Regions from separate parts of the Homo sapiens genome. Here region 2 is linked to region 1. The links are contacts of gene promoters, found by promoter capture Hi-C in human tissues and cell types (Jung and others, 2019). All regions are on one chromosome and are shown on one strand. Each heading gives the region's core, a stretch centred on a gene start or on the middle of the fragment in contact. The rest is flanking DNA. Distances are from core to core; before and after follow the strand shown. Region 1 holds the start of SH3GL1 (SH3 domain containing GRB2 like 1, endophilin A2). Region 2 holds the start of NCLN (nicalin).

What was found. Contacts are between HindIII fragments. The study calls those that stand out against the background at their distance.
Region 2: a contact is called between the fragment with the promoter of NCLN here and the fragment with the promoter of SH3GL1 in region 1, in 1 of the 25 tissues and cell types used here (lymphoblastoid cells).

The regions. Positions count from the first base shown.
Region 1 is chr19:4,397,830-4,404,653 of GRCh38, reverse strand. SH3GL1 (SH3 domain containing GRB2 like 1, endophilin A2) reads left to right here and starts at 4,107. Exons shown (of 10, transcript NM_003025.4): 1 at 4,107-4,330. The coding sequence starts at 4,286. It overlaps CHAF1A (chromatin assembly factor 1 subunit A), which reads right to left and starts at 2,014. Exons shown (of 15, transcript NM_005483.3): 1 at 1,840-2,014. The coding sequence starts at 1,891. RefSeq lists enhancers at 861-1,556, 1,557-2,254, 3,917-4,746 and silencers at 1,767-2,046, 4,009-4,518, 4,579-4,628. The HindIII fragment of the contact is 35,642 bases long and covers 1-6,824 here.
Region 2 is chr19:3,183,209-3,190,032 of GRCh38, reverse strand. It overlaps NCLN (nicalin), which reads right to left and starts at 4,103. Exons shown (of 15, transcript NM_020170.4): 1 at 3,819-4,103. The coding sequence starts at 4,002. RefSeq lists enhancers at 1-184, 185-688, 4,697-4,836, 4,143-5,025 and a silencer at 3,617-4,186. The HindIII fragment of the contact is 11,170 bases long and covers 1-5,656 here.

The sequences.
Region 1 (6,824 bases), core at 2,858-5,357:
CAGACTGGGGCTTCCTAAAAAACTCCATCGTCCATACATGAAACCACCCCTCACCCACCGCCCCAAGCTTAGTGAATAAGAAAAGGTACTGAGAAAATTCATGTTTCCTTTCTAGCCACTTCAAAGAAATAAAGACAGTATCATTCTCAAGTGTCCACTTACCAAAAGCCATGGATTTCTACCCCCTAACTGAAGGATATGATTTTTAGTCACTTAACTTTATTTTCGAGACAATCACAAAAATCTATTTGTGTGGCTTTGAGTCACTAGCTTTGGTGCAAGTGGAACAGAAACAACCTCATTAAAAACAGGACCCACCCTCATTAAAAAATCTTGTATATAAAACGGGACACTCCCAATCCAGAGATCCAAAGATACACACGATTAACACATATGTGTGTATAAAGTTACTAACTGCTCTTTATTCTGCGATTACATCCTTTCTAATTTTATTTGGCACTAAAATATACTTTCCTTTCATGATAGCATGGTCCTAGCGAGTAGCGATTTTTTTTTTTAAAGTTAAATATCCTGGCCAGGCATGGTGGCTCATGCCTGTAATCCCAGCATTTTGGGAGGCCAATGCAGGTGGATTACCTGAGGTCAGAAGTTCGAGACCAGCCTGCCCAACATGGTGAAACCCCGTCTCTACTAAAAAATACAAAAATTAGCCAGGCATGGTGGTGCAGGCCTGTAATCCCAGCTACTTGGGAGGCTGAGGCAGAAGAATCGCTTGAACCAGAGAGGCAGAGGTTGGGCAACAGAGCAAGACTCAGTCTCAAAATAAATAAATAAATAAAGTTAAACATCCTGACTTAAAACATCACAGCTCCACGACAGTACCAACTTTATATTAATTTTATGTCTCCGGGAAATCCCACAGGCTAGAAGGAACTACAGCCATGATTTTCAGCCAAGGCGGAATCTGCCCCATAGGGGACACAGGGCAATGGTATTTCTGGCTGTTACTAAGGCATGGTGAGAGGGGCTGCTACTGGCCTGCAAAAGGCGGAGGCCAGGGATGATGCTTAACACCCTGCAGTGCCGTGCCCAGGACGGCAACAAATATCAACACTGCTGAGGCTGAGAAACTGGACTGGCGTCCATTCTAGCCCTTCATTCGTTCACGTTATTTACTGAGCACCTACTATGTGCCAAAGCGTAATGCCAAGTGCTGCCAAAGCGTTATGTAATGCAGAGTCCAGCAAGGGAGAGGGACAGTCTGGTCTTCCTTGGTTCACCCTCCCACGTTTCAGGAGGCCTGTGGTGGGCTCCAAAGACCCCATTCCAAGGCACACGGAGGAGGAAGTCACGGTGCATATCAGGAAGGAGCAAGAACTCGGGAGTCCCACCCTCCTGGCCATCTCTACCATCTGGGCCTCTTCTTACCCGGGCTTACCCCGACCCTCAGCGGCATCGGTACTGGTCCCCGAGCCCGTGCGACCTTGGGCCTCAGTTTCCCCACCCGCTGCAAGGTCCAACATGGTCAAGGGACACAAACGCATCCAGTAACCTGCAGGGCAAGCCCTTTCGCTTCCCTGGGCCTCAGTTTCCCCTCTCGGCCCCTCCGACCCACCGCCCCAGAGAGTCCTGGAGGGACGAACTGACGCAAAAGCGCCGGAAACAAACAATATGGTCGCGGCTACAACAATAACGTCAACAAGGGTGCCCTTGGGGACGCCAGGCCCTCGCTGGGGATGAGAAGGCCCCAGGGGGTGAACGCCCGGCCCGCAGGACCAGGCTTGGCGCCCGGAGGCCCGTCCGCCTCCCATCGCCGCCTCGGCCCGTCCAGGCCGCGCGCCGCGCCCCCCCTTCCCCTCGGCGCGGGCCCGAACCGACCTGTGGCGGCTCCCCTGGCGCCGGGCGCCCCGCACTCCAGCTCCTCCAGCATCGCCCCGGCGGCAGCTCGACCTCCTCTCAGGCGGCGGAGGCGCGGGCTCCCCTCAGGCGGCCGCTGCTCTTCGCCCTCCCGCCCGCGCCGCTGCTGCCGCCGCGGCCGCCGCGCTCGTATTTGGCGGGAACCGCGGCGACCCCCGCAGTCCGCGCGCCAATTGGGCGAGCCCGGGTCACGTGACGGCCCGCCTCGGGAATTGAGGGGCGCCGGGGGCATCCTCGCGAGATCCGTGACTTCCATTCCTCCCAGGGCTCGCCCATTGACATATCCGCGAGGGACTGGGCTTCCCCTCGGAGGCCTGTCATTGGCTGGGAGGAGCTGCCCTGCGATTGGAGGAAGGAGGTGTCAAGCTCATTGCTCTGCGCTGCGACTGGCTGATCGCGTGGGATAGTCCCTAAGAGGAGGGAGGCCCAGGCTCTTACGTCACCAGAACATTTTACGCAAGGCGCAGATGACAACTTGAAAGTGGGATTTAGATGAGGAACCTGGAGTTTTGAGTTTATCCTAATGGGACATCGGCTAAATATAGCAACAGCAATTAAAATTATAAATTGCTTTCTACAAGAACAATAAAACGAAGTCTGGGGAGCGCTTCGGAAGTATTTGACATTCAGTAAATAACATGTAGAATGAGTGAACGAAATGGACGAAATGGATCGTTTCTGGTTTAATCCTCAGGAAATTGGCACATGCTGTTTTCTCTGCCTAGAACAATCTTTTCGCAGCTCTTTTCCTGGCTAATTTATACTTTTCAGATCTTAGATCGTCACCCCAGGAAGCCTTTTCTTCCCCAACCCTGACAATATCAAGTGCCTACAACACTGTTCTTTTCCTTAAAGCAATTACAGCTGTGTCTATTTATTAGTTTGTTATTTGACTAATGAATTAATTTCTGCCTTTTGTCATTAGTTCTGGCGAGGGTAGGACTCATTCCTCACTGGAACCCCAGGACCTGTTAGTAACTGATCATATTTACCAGGTCAATAAATGTTTGAGTGAATGTATAAATATTTGATTGAACTGTGTAGATCAAGCAGATTAAAAGCCTCACACAAAACAGAGAACTTCAGTGTCAGCCTGTGAGTGTAGAAACAGGTTTTCTTTCTTTCTTTCTTCCTTCCTTCCTTCCTTCCTTCCTTCCTTCCTTCCTTTCTTTCTTTCTTTTTTCTTGAGACGGAGTCCCTAGTAGCTGGGACCACAGGCGCCCGCCACCACGTCCGGCTAATTTTTTCTATTTTTTAGTAGAGACAGGGTTTCACCGTGTTAGCCAGGATGGTCTCAATCTCCTGACCTCGTGATCCGCCCACCTAGGCCTCCCAAAGTGCTGGGATTACAGGCGTGAGCCACCGCCCCTGGCCCTGAATTGCATTCTAGAAGCATCTTTCTGGCTGCCATGACAAGGAAGAATTGGAGGGGAGGACTGGTGGAAAGTATGGTCAAGGCATGAAGACAGACCTAGATGTCTAGATGTGTCACGTGGGCAACTGAATGGATGAACACAGGACAGAGAGAGAGAGGAAGAGAGGTGGCCGGGCACGGTGGCTCATACCTGTGAGACCAGTACTTTGGGAGGCTGGATTTGGTGGGGGGGTTGGGGGTTGGATCACCTGAGGTCAGGAGTTCGAGACCAGCCTGGCCAACATGGCGAAACACTGTCTCTACTAAAAATACAAAAATTAGCCTAGCATGGTGGTGCGCGCCTGTAATCTCAGCTACTTGGGAGGCTGAGGCAGGAGAATCGCTTGAACCCGGGAGGCGGAGGTTGCAGTGAGCCGAGATCACGCCACTGCACTCCAGCCTGGGAGACAAAGCAAGACTCCGTCTCAAAAAAAAAATAAATAAATAAATAAAAATGGGAGGGGGCTGAACACTTAGACGAACTGGATTTAGCTAAGATGAGTAAACAGGAATCTGAAGAATCGTAAGCAGGGGCCCCTTCTACTTCCCAACCTCCCTGGCCAGGTTTAAACTAAGCGCGTTTTCCAAGACGTTAGGGTCACCTCCACGACTCCAGGGGGCGCTGCAACTGCTACGGCCCCTCTAGGCTCGCCCCGCTCAACTCACTGACAGAGGCGGCCTCTCCCGCGGTAGACAATGTGCACGTGCGCTCTTCAGCCGGCAGAGGGCGCGCGTGCGCAGACGGGGCCGGGGGCGCGCGCGGGGGCCGGGGGCGCGCGCGGGGGCCGGCACCGGAAGCGTGCGGTTGCCATGTAATATCCTGGCCGCGCGGGCGCGCGAGCGGCTGAGGCGGCGCCGGGGCGGGCGCGGAGCTGGCAAGCGGGTGGCGGAGGCGGCGCCGACGGGGACTGCTGAGGCGCGCAGAGGGTCGGCGGCGCCCGGGAGCCTGTCGCTGGCGCGGTCCGGGCGGGAGGCTCGGCGGCGGGCGGCAGCATGTCGGTGGCGGGGCTGAAGAAGCAGTTCTACAAGGCGAGCCAGGTGAGCGCAGGCCCAGGCGGGAGCCGAGTACCGGGCCCCGGGCTGCCCGGATGAGGGAGCCAGGCCCGACCTGGCCCGGGAGGGGGCCGGGGGGACCGAGGTGGGGACGTTGGCGCGTGTCCCCTGCCAGGTGGGAAGACCAAGGGACGGACGGGGGCGACGAGGTGGCCCAGGCCCTGCCCGCCATGCGGGCTCCAGAAGCGGGGACAGAGCCCCTGGGAGGAGGGGAGAGGCACCCTGGGCTGCCCAGGGACGCGGACCTCTCCCCTCCTTCTCTCCGCTGCAAAGGCGGGGTGCGGGGAGAGAAGGGGAAGAGAGGAGTCCCGAGGCTGTCGACACAGGACTCTTGCCAGATAACCCAGAGCCAGGGAAAAGTTGCGTCTAGAGCAGTTACGTTCAAAATCCTCTGGATGGGCAAGGTACAAAGTTGAAAAGGTAGAGGAAGAAGTCAGTTTCCCCTCTCTGCTCCTCGGGCAGCCAGCCCTTCTCCCCAGAGACAAGCGACTGTCATCGACTCCGTATGTCCCTTTCCTAAGATACGTGTGTGCCTTTCCTTTAAAAACACGTACCCTGTGATAGCATATGCCACAGAATCCTGTGTGCTGTGTTTTTCATTGCTTGGAGATCACACTGGAGCGGGATTTCTCCCCCTCCGTCGGCACTGTTGACATCTGGGGCTGGATTGTTCTCCGTGGTGGGGCCGTCCTGGGCACTGCGGGGTGCTGAGCAGCGCCCCTGGCCTCCACCCACTCCGGGCCAGGAGCACCCCCAAGTCGTGACAACCAAAAATATCTTGAGACATCACCGTGTGTCCCCTTAGAATCAGTCCTCCTTCCCTCCCTTCGTTCCTTCCTTCCTTCTTTCCTTCCTTCCTCCCTCCCTCCTTGCCTCTCTCCCTCCCTCCCTTCTCTTCTTTCCTTCCTCCCTTCCTTTCCTGTCCCCCAGGACTACTGCTCTAGACCATACTCCACACTTCTTGGATTTTTTTTTTTTTTTTTTTTTTTGAGAGGGAGTCATGCTCTGTCGCCCCAGCTGGAGGGCAGTGGTGCAATCTCGGCTCACTGCAAGCTCCGCCTCCTGTGTTCAAGCAATTCTCCTGCCTCAGCCTCCCCAGTAGCTGGGACTACAGGCATGCGCCACCACGCCCGGCTACTTTTTGTAATTTTAGCAGAGACAGGGTTTCTCCATGTGCCCCAGGGTGGTCTCGAACTCCTGGCCTCAAGTAATCCGCCTGCTTCGGCTTCCCAACATGCTGGGATTATCGACGTAAGCCACCTGCCTGGCCTACTTGGCTCTTTTTAATGGGTACATTGTATTTCATTCCATGACATATACCATAATTTATTTAACCAGTTGTCAGTTGATAGATATCTCTATTGTTTACCGGAATTTTCTGTTACCATTACTACAATAAATAGCCAGTGAATATCTTTGCTCACCAGTGGGATTAGTTTTATAGGATGAATTCCCAGAAGTAGAATGCTGCATCCCAGCCTAAGTGCATTTGATATGGACAGATAAAGGGTTTTTTTTGGAAACTCCAGGGCCCACTGCTCATGAATCTGGTGAAAGCTGTGGATCCACTCTCCAGAAAACTGGGCACATTTAAAATTTTCACTTTGCAATTTCGAATGCAAGAAGCCTCAAATTTGGCCGGGCGCGGTGGCTCATGCCTGGAATCCCAGCAGTTTGGGAGGCCGAGGCGGGCGGATCACTTGAAGCCAGGAGTTTGAGAGCAGCCTGGGCAACATGGCAAAACCCCATCTCTACTAACAATACAAAAATTTTGTATTTTTGCCTGTAACCCCAGCTACTAAGGAGGGTGAGACAGGAGAATCTCTTGAATCCGGCAGGCAGAGGTTGCAGTGAGCCGAGATTGCACCACTGCACTCCAGCCTGGGTGACAGAGCGAGACTCCGTCTTGAAAAAAAAAAAAAGACAAGAAGCCTCAGATTGTTGAATCCTATTGGTCCGTGTACTGCAGGGTGAGGTTGTGTGGAATTTGTGTAGATAGAGTCCACCGAGGAATGAGCAATGATCTTAGCAAATGCTTGGGCCAAGGTGGCAAACAGGGTTCTCTGCCCACAGTTCGGAGATGCCCAGTGGGAGCAAAGAGAAACGAGTCCCCAGTAACACCCAGCAGGTACCTTTGCCCCTGGAAAGAAAAAAGTAAGGACCCTGCCAGGTGCTGTGGCTCATGCCTGTAATCCCAGCACTTTGAAGGCTGAGGCAGGGGTTCCCTTGAGTTCAGGAGTTCAAGACCAGCCTGGGCGATATAGGGAGATCCCATCTCTACAAAATATGAAAAAGTTAGCCAGGTGTGGTGATGTGCACCTGCAGTCCCAGCTACTTGGGAGGCTGAGGCAGGAGGACCACTTGAGCCCAGCAGTTCAAGGCTGCAGTGAACTATGATCGTGCCACTGCACTTCAGCCTGGGCAGCAAAGTGAGACCCTGTCTCAAAAAATAAATAAAAAAAGTAACAACCCTAGTGGT
Region 2 (6,824 bases), core at 2,854-5,353, 1.2 Mb after region 1:
TCGAGCTCCCGCAGGCGGGATAGGGAGTGAGCGAGGAGGGAGAAGGGAAGGAGCAGCAGCAAGTCAGAGGAACGGAGGGGGACACCAGCACCCAGAGCTCCCTGAAGGCCACGGCCTCCCATTCCGAAGCCCCGCCCATCGGAGCCCCGCCTCGCGTCAGCACCAGCCAAGGCCACACTGCCCTCTGGATCCCAGCCCCCGCTCGCTCGGGGCCCAATGGCAAGGGCTCTCTGTGGCCAAGGCCCATCTCCCCAGGAGAACAGATGGCCTTGGGTGGCCCCAGCCTCCCTCGAGGGCCAGGGTCGGGCCGGGTGGCCACAAGCTAGTGTGGACACGGCCCTCTGCGGAGGCGAAACCAGCACCAACTCCCTCAGACCCGCGTCTGAATGGGCTGAGACCACTTGTGGTGGACGCCATGGAGGGCACCGGGCATCCTGAGAGAAGTCACCAGTTGGCGTGACAGGACTGGACCTGAACAGTGGCCTGGGCACCTGTCTATCTATCGGGGGCCAGACGGCCAACCTTTCCCCTCTCGGGCCATAGGGCTCTGGCACAATCACTGGGCTCAGCTGTTTCTGCGTGGAAGCAGCCAGCGACAAGATGCCAATGGATGGGCATGACCGCGTGCCGATAAAACTTTATTAACAACAACAGGCAGAGAGCCAGACGTGACCTACAGGCTGCAGTTAGCTGTATCCCAGATGAAGGAGTTTTGGCAAGTCTGATGGACTTGACGGGTCCTGGGAGCTGGGCGCTCCAAGGGGTGCTAAGGTTCCCACCTCACATGGGCCATAAGCTCAACGAGCCCCACCTGCTGTGAACGGCCACCGAGCCGAGAAAGCCTTCACCCGGCAGGGCCAGAGTCCACTCCCAGGAGAGGGGTGCTGTGCACCTGGCCAGTGAGACCCAGATCACACCCAAACACAAAGGGCACCGCCCCGCCCTGTGCCTCTCAACAGCAGCAGGAAGGAAGTTGGGAAAGGACTCCCCAGCGAGTAAGGGTTGCAGCTCCTCCGGGTAGTGGGCCCGGGGGTGAAAGCACACCGGGAAGATGGTGGTGGAGGGTGGCCTCAAAGGCAGCACGCTGGGGCTTCTCAAGGGCCTGTCCTCGGCAGGGCTCTGGCCCAAACCACCCCCAGTCTCTCAGGGGCGGCCAGAGTGACACAGAGGGGTGTGCTGGCTGGGCCTCGCCTACCCTGCGAGAGCTGGACTGTGCTTCCCAGGGCGCAGATGAGGAGCATGGAGGCTGAGGCAGGGCGGCTGCCCCATGGGCTCCTCCGCTCACCCCGGGAGCCCACGGACCAGCTGGGCGAATGCCACATACAGGGAAAGCTGCGTCCAGCTTCCTCACTAGGAGAAAGAAAAGCTGGGGTCCAGGGAGGAGGGTACAGGGGAGGAGGCCAGTGAAAAGAAGACTCAGAAGAAAACCCAGGATTGTGGGCAAAGGCCCCAGAGAAGCGAGGAAAGAGAGAAAGGACTGCAGGGGAAAGGGAGGGAGGCGCCACCAAAAAGGGGCCGAGGGAATCGGGGAAGGAAAACGGGGTGAACGTCAGGAGGCTGCGAAGAACAAGAGGCCACACAAGGAAACTGGGAGGGACTCTAGGAGGCTGGAGAGGGCGTCCGTCTGGCCGTGGAACGGGGAGACATCTGCTCACTCGATAGACAACATGCATTCCCTGGGCGGACTTGCGGGGAGAGAAAGGGGGCCCACATCTGCCCAGGGACAGTGTAGGGAGCCGCCAACATGCATTCCCTGGGTGGGTTCTTGGGGAGAGAAAGGGGGCCCACACCTGCCCAGGGACAGTGTAGCAGCCACCAGATCACACCTGCCCGGGGGGCTGGAGGGAGGCCGGGTGAGCTGGAGGACCAGGCAGGAGATGCCAAGAGTGTGAACAGGGTATCTCGAGCTCTAGGAGTGGGGTCTTTGGGGTGCAGACTGCCCTGGAAACCCCACGGAAGCCGCTATGAGAGCCGCAGGCACGCGTGGCTACTTGCGTTTATTACCCTCAAGCAGCGCTGAAAATCCTGCCCCCCGGTTGCACAGGCCACGCTTTGGGGGCTCGGCAGCCTCCTGTGGCTGCTGGCTCCTGTGCCAGGCAGCAAAGATGGAGGCGATTCTACAGGATGGTGCCCGTCAGGACCCTTCCCCCGGGAAAATCCCAAGCAGCACGGAAAACGCGGTCACTGCATGAGGAGCCTCTGGCCTTCCACTCCCACCCTCCAGAGCCTGGGCCTTGGGTTTATACACCACCACTGTGGCCCCAGGGCGCTTCCCCTGGACACTGTGGACATTAGGGCCGGATCGTTCTCTGGGGTGGGGCCGTCCTGGGCACTACAGGGAATTGAGCAGCGTCCCTGGCCTCCACCCACTCCATGCCAGGAGCACCCGTGGTCGTGACAACCACAGATGTCCCCAGACATCACCCAGCGTCCCCTCGGTTGACAACAATGGCTCTAAGTAAAAAAATCGTAACTCTGGGGCAAAATGGGACCTGAGGCCAAAGTCTGGTTCCATCTCCAGAGATGGGCTCCCCAAGGGCTGGCAGAAGCTGGGGGTCCCCGCGCCTCAGGTTGAGCCTGAGATGTGACGAGAGGGACCAATCCAAGAGAATCCGGGCTGGGAACTAAGGGGGCCAGGAGAACAAGCGGACGGGACTCCTTCACAGGGAAGGCCAGGCCTTGACTTCCAGGGACCTGAGGGGCCAGGCTGAAAAGAAGAAAAACCAGGGACCAGGTTCTGGAATGTCAGGGACAGCTATAGCCAGGCAAAGACAAGGGGATGTGGAATGGTCTAGACACTGGGGTCAGGGCCACGACGGGAGGGGGCGAGGCTGTTGAGTGGGAGACTTGCAGAATGCAAGGGCAAGGGGGTGCGAATTTGGAAAGGGAAGAGGAAATCCTGGAAAGATGGAACAAGTGGGGTTCTGGGAAGTGGGTGTGAGGAGGCTGAGCTGAGGGCGTGGGTATGCATCAAAGGCGGGACAGAAAGGGGGTCAAAGGGAACCCCAGGCGAGTGGACTGAACTGGGGACGTGGGAGGAGACCAGGGAAGCTGGGCTAGCAGATTCTGAAACATGACTCACGAACTGGGACCAGAGAGCGTCAGGGGTCTGGGGACAAATGTGCCCTTGACGTGGGGGCCGGTGACTAGAGCGAGAAAATTCAGGGGAGTTGAATTTGGGCACTGGACAAAATGCACTTGGCACCCAGGGCCGTGGGAGGGGGTGGGGAATGCTGGACCACCGCGTCGGGTGGCTCAGCCTGGCAGAAATCAGTGCAGGGACCTTTAACTCCAAACGCAGTCAGCTAAAGGCGAGAGGCCTGGGAACACGGACGTGACCCAGTGAATCCAGAGACCAACCAGATGGTCTCCAGAACAGGACCCTGGGAGCTGGAGGTCAGGACGGGAGCGTCTGCTCAAGTGAGCCCGGACCAGGAAGCCTAAGGGGCGGAGGGGGCCCAGGAGGGAGAAACTCGGCAAGGCAGGCAGACGCCGGCCCAGCTGGGGACAGGAGAGAGGGGACTTAGGGCTCCAGGGACGCGGGACGCTTGGCCCGGCCATGGGTTCCGGGGCAGGGAGACCTAGGCAGGGGCCGGGGGCTGTGGGAGCGAGCGCGGGGGGTCCCTGGGCGCTAGGCAAGGAGAGCAGGGATTCCAGGGCGCCCGGGGGTCCAGGGCGGCAGGGCTCTGCCTCGCCTGGGGCCTGAGCATGGGTCGGGCAGCCCAGGCCGGAGCTAGGGATCGGCCTGGGGATCGCCGGGCCGGAGTGGCGTGGCCGGGGAGCCCGGGGAGCCCCGAGGGTGGGCCGGGGACACGCACCGTAGGGCTGGCCCTGCAGGTCGTACTGCTGCATGCGGTACACGGTGAACTCGTGCGCGGCGTCGGCGGCAGGCAGCGGCGGCGCCACCAGCAGCAGCACAGCGGGCAGGAAGACGATGAAGCCGAGCGGCAGACAAGACGCCTTCAGCATGTTCTCCAGCACCTCGCCCGCTTCCTCCAGCATCCTGGCCGGCGGCGGGGCCGCGCGGGGCGGCAGCTGGGACGGGACGGCGGCGGCGGCGGCTCCCGCGGACTCACCTCGGCATGGGTAGCCGCCGGGGTCCTGCGGGCGCCGCGCGGGGCAGCCCGCACTCGCCCTGAGGTCCTGTGGGCACCGCGGCGAACCGCCCCGCCAGCCGCGCTGCCTGTCGGGAATTGTAGTCCGTCCGTCCGGCGCTCGCGGAGCCCTGTGGGAGTTGTAGGCCCACTCTGGAACTCCCGGAAGGTGCGGCAGGCTGTTCGGCTAATACCGTTGAGGTTTCACATAAACTCCAAGTCATAAAATGCAATAAAATGCTTTAAAAAACTATTTCGCGATATCACTTTCTTAACCTTGTCTTTGGCGTTGGGGGAGCTAGGGTGAGGGGCGAAAGGTGGGGACAGGACGTGACCTTGCGACCTGGAAGGAAGTTGGGGATAAAGAGAAAAGGAAGTGCCTGCCTGGCGCGCTAGGTCTTCTGGGAGTTGTAGTCCCGTCAAACACACAAAGGGTCACGGGAACTGTAGTCGTCCTGGCAGAAATTGCTGAGAAAAACAAAAATCACTTAAAACTCCCGAGGATGTAGATGTCAAACTCCACGAAGGCAAAAACTTTTGTCTGTTTTGTGCATATGATGTATCCCCGGCATCTAGCACAAGACCTGGCGCACGGCGGGTGGCCTATACCATTTTTGAATGAATGAATGAAAAATAGAAAGTCATGATAGTCAGTTCCTAAGGGAGGCCGCAGTGGGTTGTGGGACTTGTAGTCTGGAACCTGCGGTTTGTGCAGGGGTCGGTGGCAGGTATTTATATTTATCTTTATTCATATTTGGGGCATACTTATACTAAAAAAGTATTTGTTGTTCATCAGAAATTTAAAGTTAAAACCCAGTGTCTCAGGGCTGGAGGTACCTAAGGAACGTCCCTTTGTACAGATGGGGAGACTGAGCCCCAGGGTGCAGCAGACAGTAGCCCTGGCTCTCAGCACGTTATCATCCCAGGCTCCGTACAGCTGCCTAAGGAGTCAGGGCTTCCTTTCTGTCCCAAGTGAGAAGTGGCATTGGTGCCGATTAAGAGCCTGGGCTCAAATCCCAACTCCTCCATTTCCCAGCTGTGTGGCTTTGGGCAAGTCGCTTCACCTCTCAGAGTCTCAGTTTCCTCAGATATAATGATAAAGAATCAAGCACTCTCCCTGCCAGCAGCATGTGAGAATTCTGTTTGTTTGTTTGTTTGTTTGTTTGTTTTTGAGATGTAGTCTCTGTCACCTAGGCTGGAGTGCAGTGGCTTGATCTCAGCTCACCGCAACCTCCACCTCCTGGGTTCAAGCAATTCCTGTGTCTCAGCCTCCTGAGTAGCTGTAAATTACAGGCGTGAGCTACCGCGCCCGGCTAGAAAGGGAGTTTCTGAGTGTGCTGCTGGGTCACTGAGCACCTACTGTGTGCCAGCCGTGTGGTGGGTGCTGGGGACACAGCCGGGACCCCAGCAAAGCCACACTATCCACCGACACGGAGCTCGAAGTCCAAAGGAGGAGGTGGATTGTGTGACCAGGGGTGATGGGAGCTGGGATAGAGGACACAAAGGCAGCTGGGAGAAGCCCAGAGGAGGCCTAGGGAGGAGAGGAAATCAGAGGAGGCTTCCTGGAGGAGGTGACACTTAAGCTGAAACTCAAAAGATGAGCCAGAGCAGATGAGTGAAGAAAGAGGGAAAGTTGTGCCCAGTATAAAGCAGAGCTGTCATGCAGGGAACACAGGCAGCTGTGGGAGCCTAGAGGAGACCTAGGGAGGAGGAGAAATCAAAGAAGACTTCCTGGAGGAGGTGACGCTAAAACTAAGGTACAAAGAATGAGCAGGCAGAAGTCAAGTGACGAAGGAGGGAAGGTGCGGGCTAACAAGGCCCCTTTATCAGGGACAACAAAGGAGGTTAAGCGAGAAGCCCCCAGAAGGGAAGGACCAAGAAATAATTCAGCTCAGCCAAAGCAGGGCAGAGGGGGCAACAGGGTCAGCCAACACGGGCCCAGAAGGCAGACAGAGAGCTCCAGGCCTGCCCAGACTCCACTTATCCCAAATTCCACCAACACCCCACCCTGCCTGCTGTGGTCCCCACTAAACACACAGAGAACAGGAATCAGGAAAAGATAAGAACTACCCTAGCTTATCATGCCTGCAGAGGGGTGTTTGGGACTTCACTGGTGAAGTGGCTGGCCACAGTTCCATCTGTCTGCAATTGGCCAGCCACAGTAGCTCATGCCTGTAGTCCCAACACTTTGGGAGGCTGAGGCAGGAGGATCACTTGAGCCCAGGAGATTGAGACCAGCCTGGGAAACATAGCAAGACCCTGTCTCTCTCTCTCTCTCTCTTTTTTTTTTTTTTTTTTTTTTGAGACGGAGTCTTGCTCTGTCACCCAGATTGGAGTGCAGTGGCACGAACTCAGTCCACTGCAACCTCGGCCTCCCGGGTTCAAGCAATTCTCCTGCCTCAGCCTCCCAAGTAGCTGGGATTACAGGCATGCACCACTACGCCTGGCTAATTTTGTATTTTTAGTAGAGACGGGGTTTCTCCATGTTGGCCAGGCTGGTCTCAAACTCCTGACCTAAGGTGATCCACCTGCCTCGGCCTCCCAAAGTGCTGGAATTACAGGGGTGAGCCACAGCACCCAGCCCCGTCTCTACAAAAAATATAAAAATTAGCCAGGTGTGGTGGTGTGCACCTGTAATTGCAGCTACTCGGAAACCCAAGGCAGAAGGATCACTTGAGCCCAAGAGATCGAGGCTGCAGTGAGCTATGATCACACCACTGCACTCCAGCC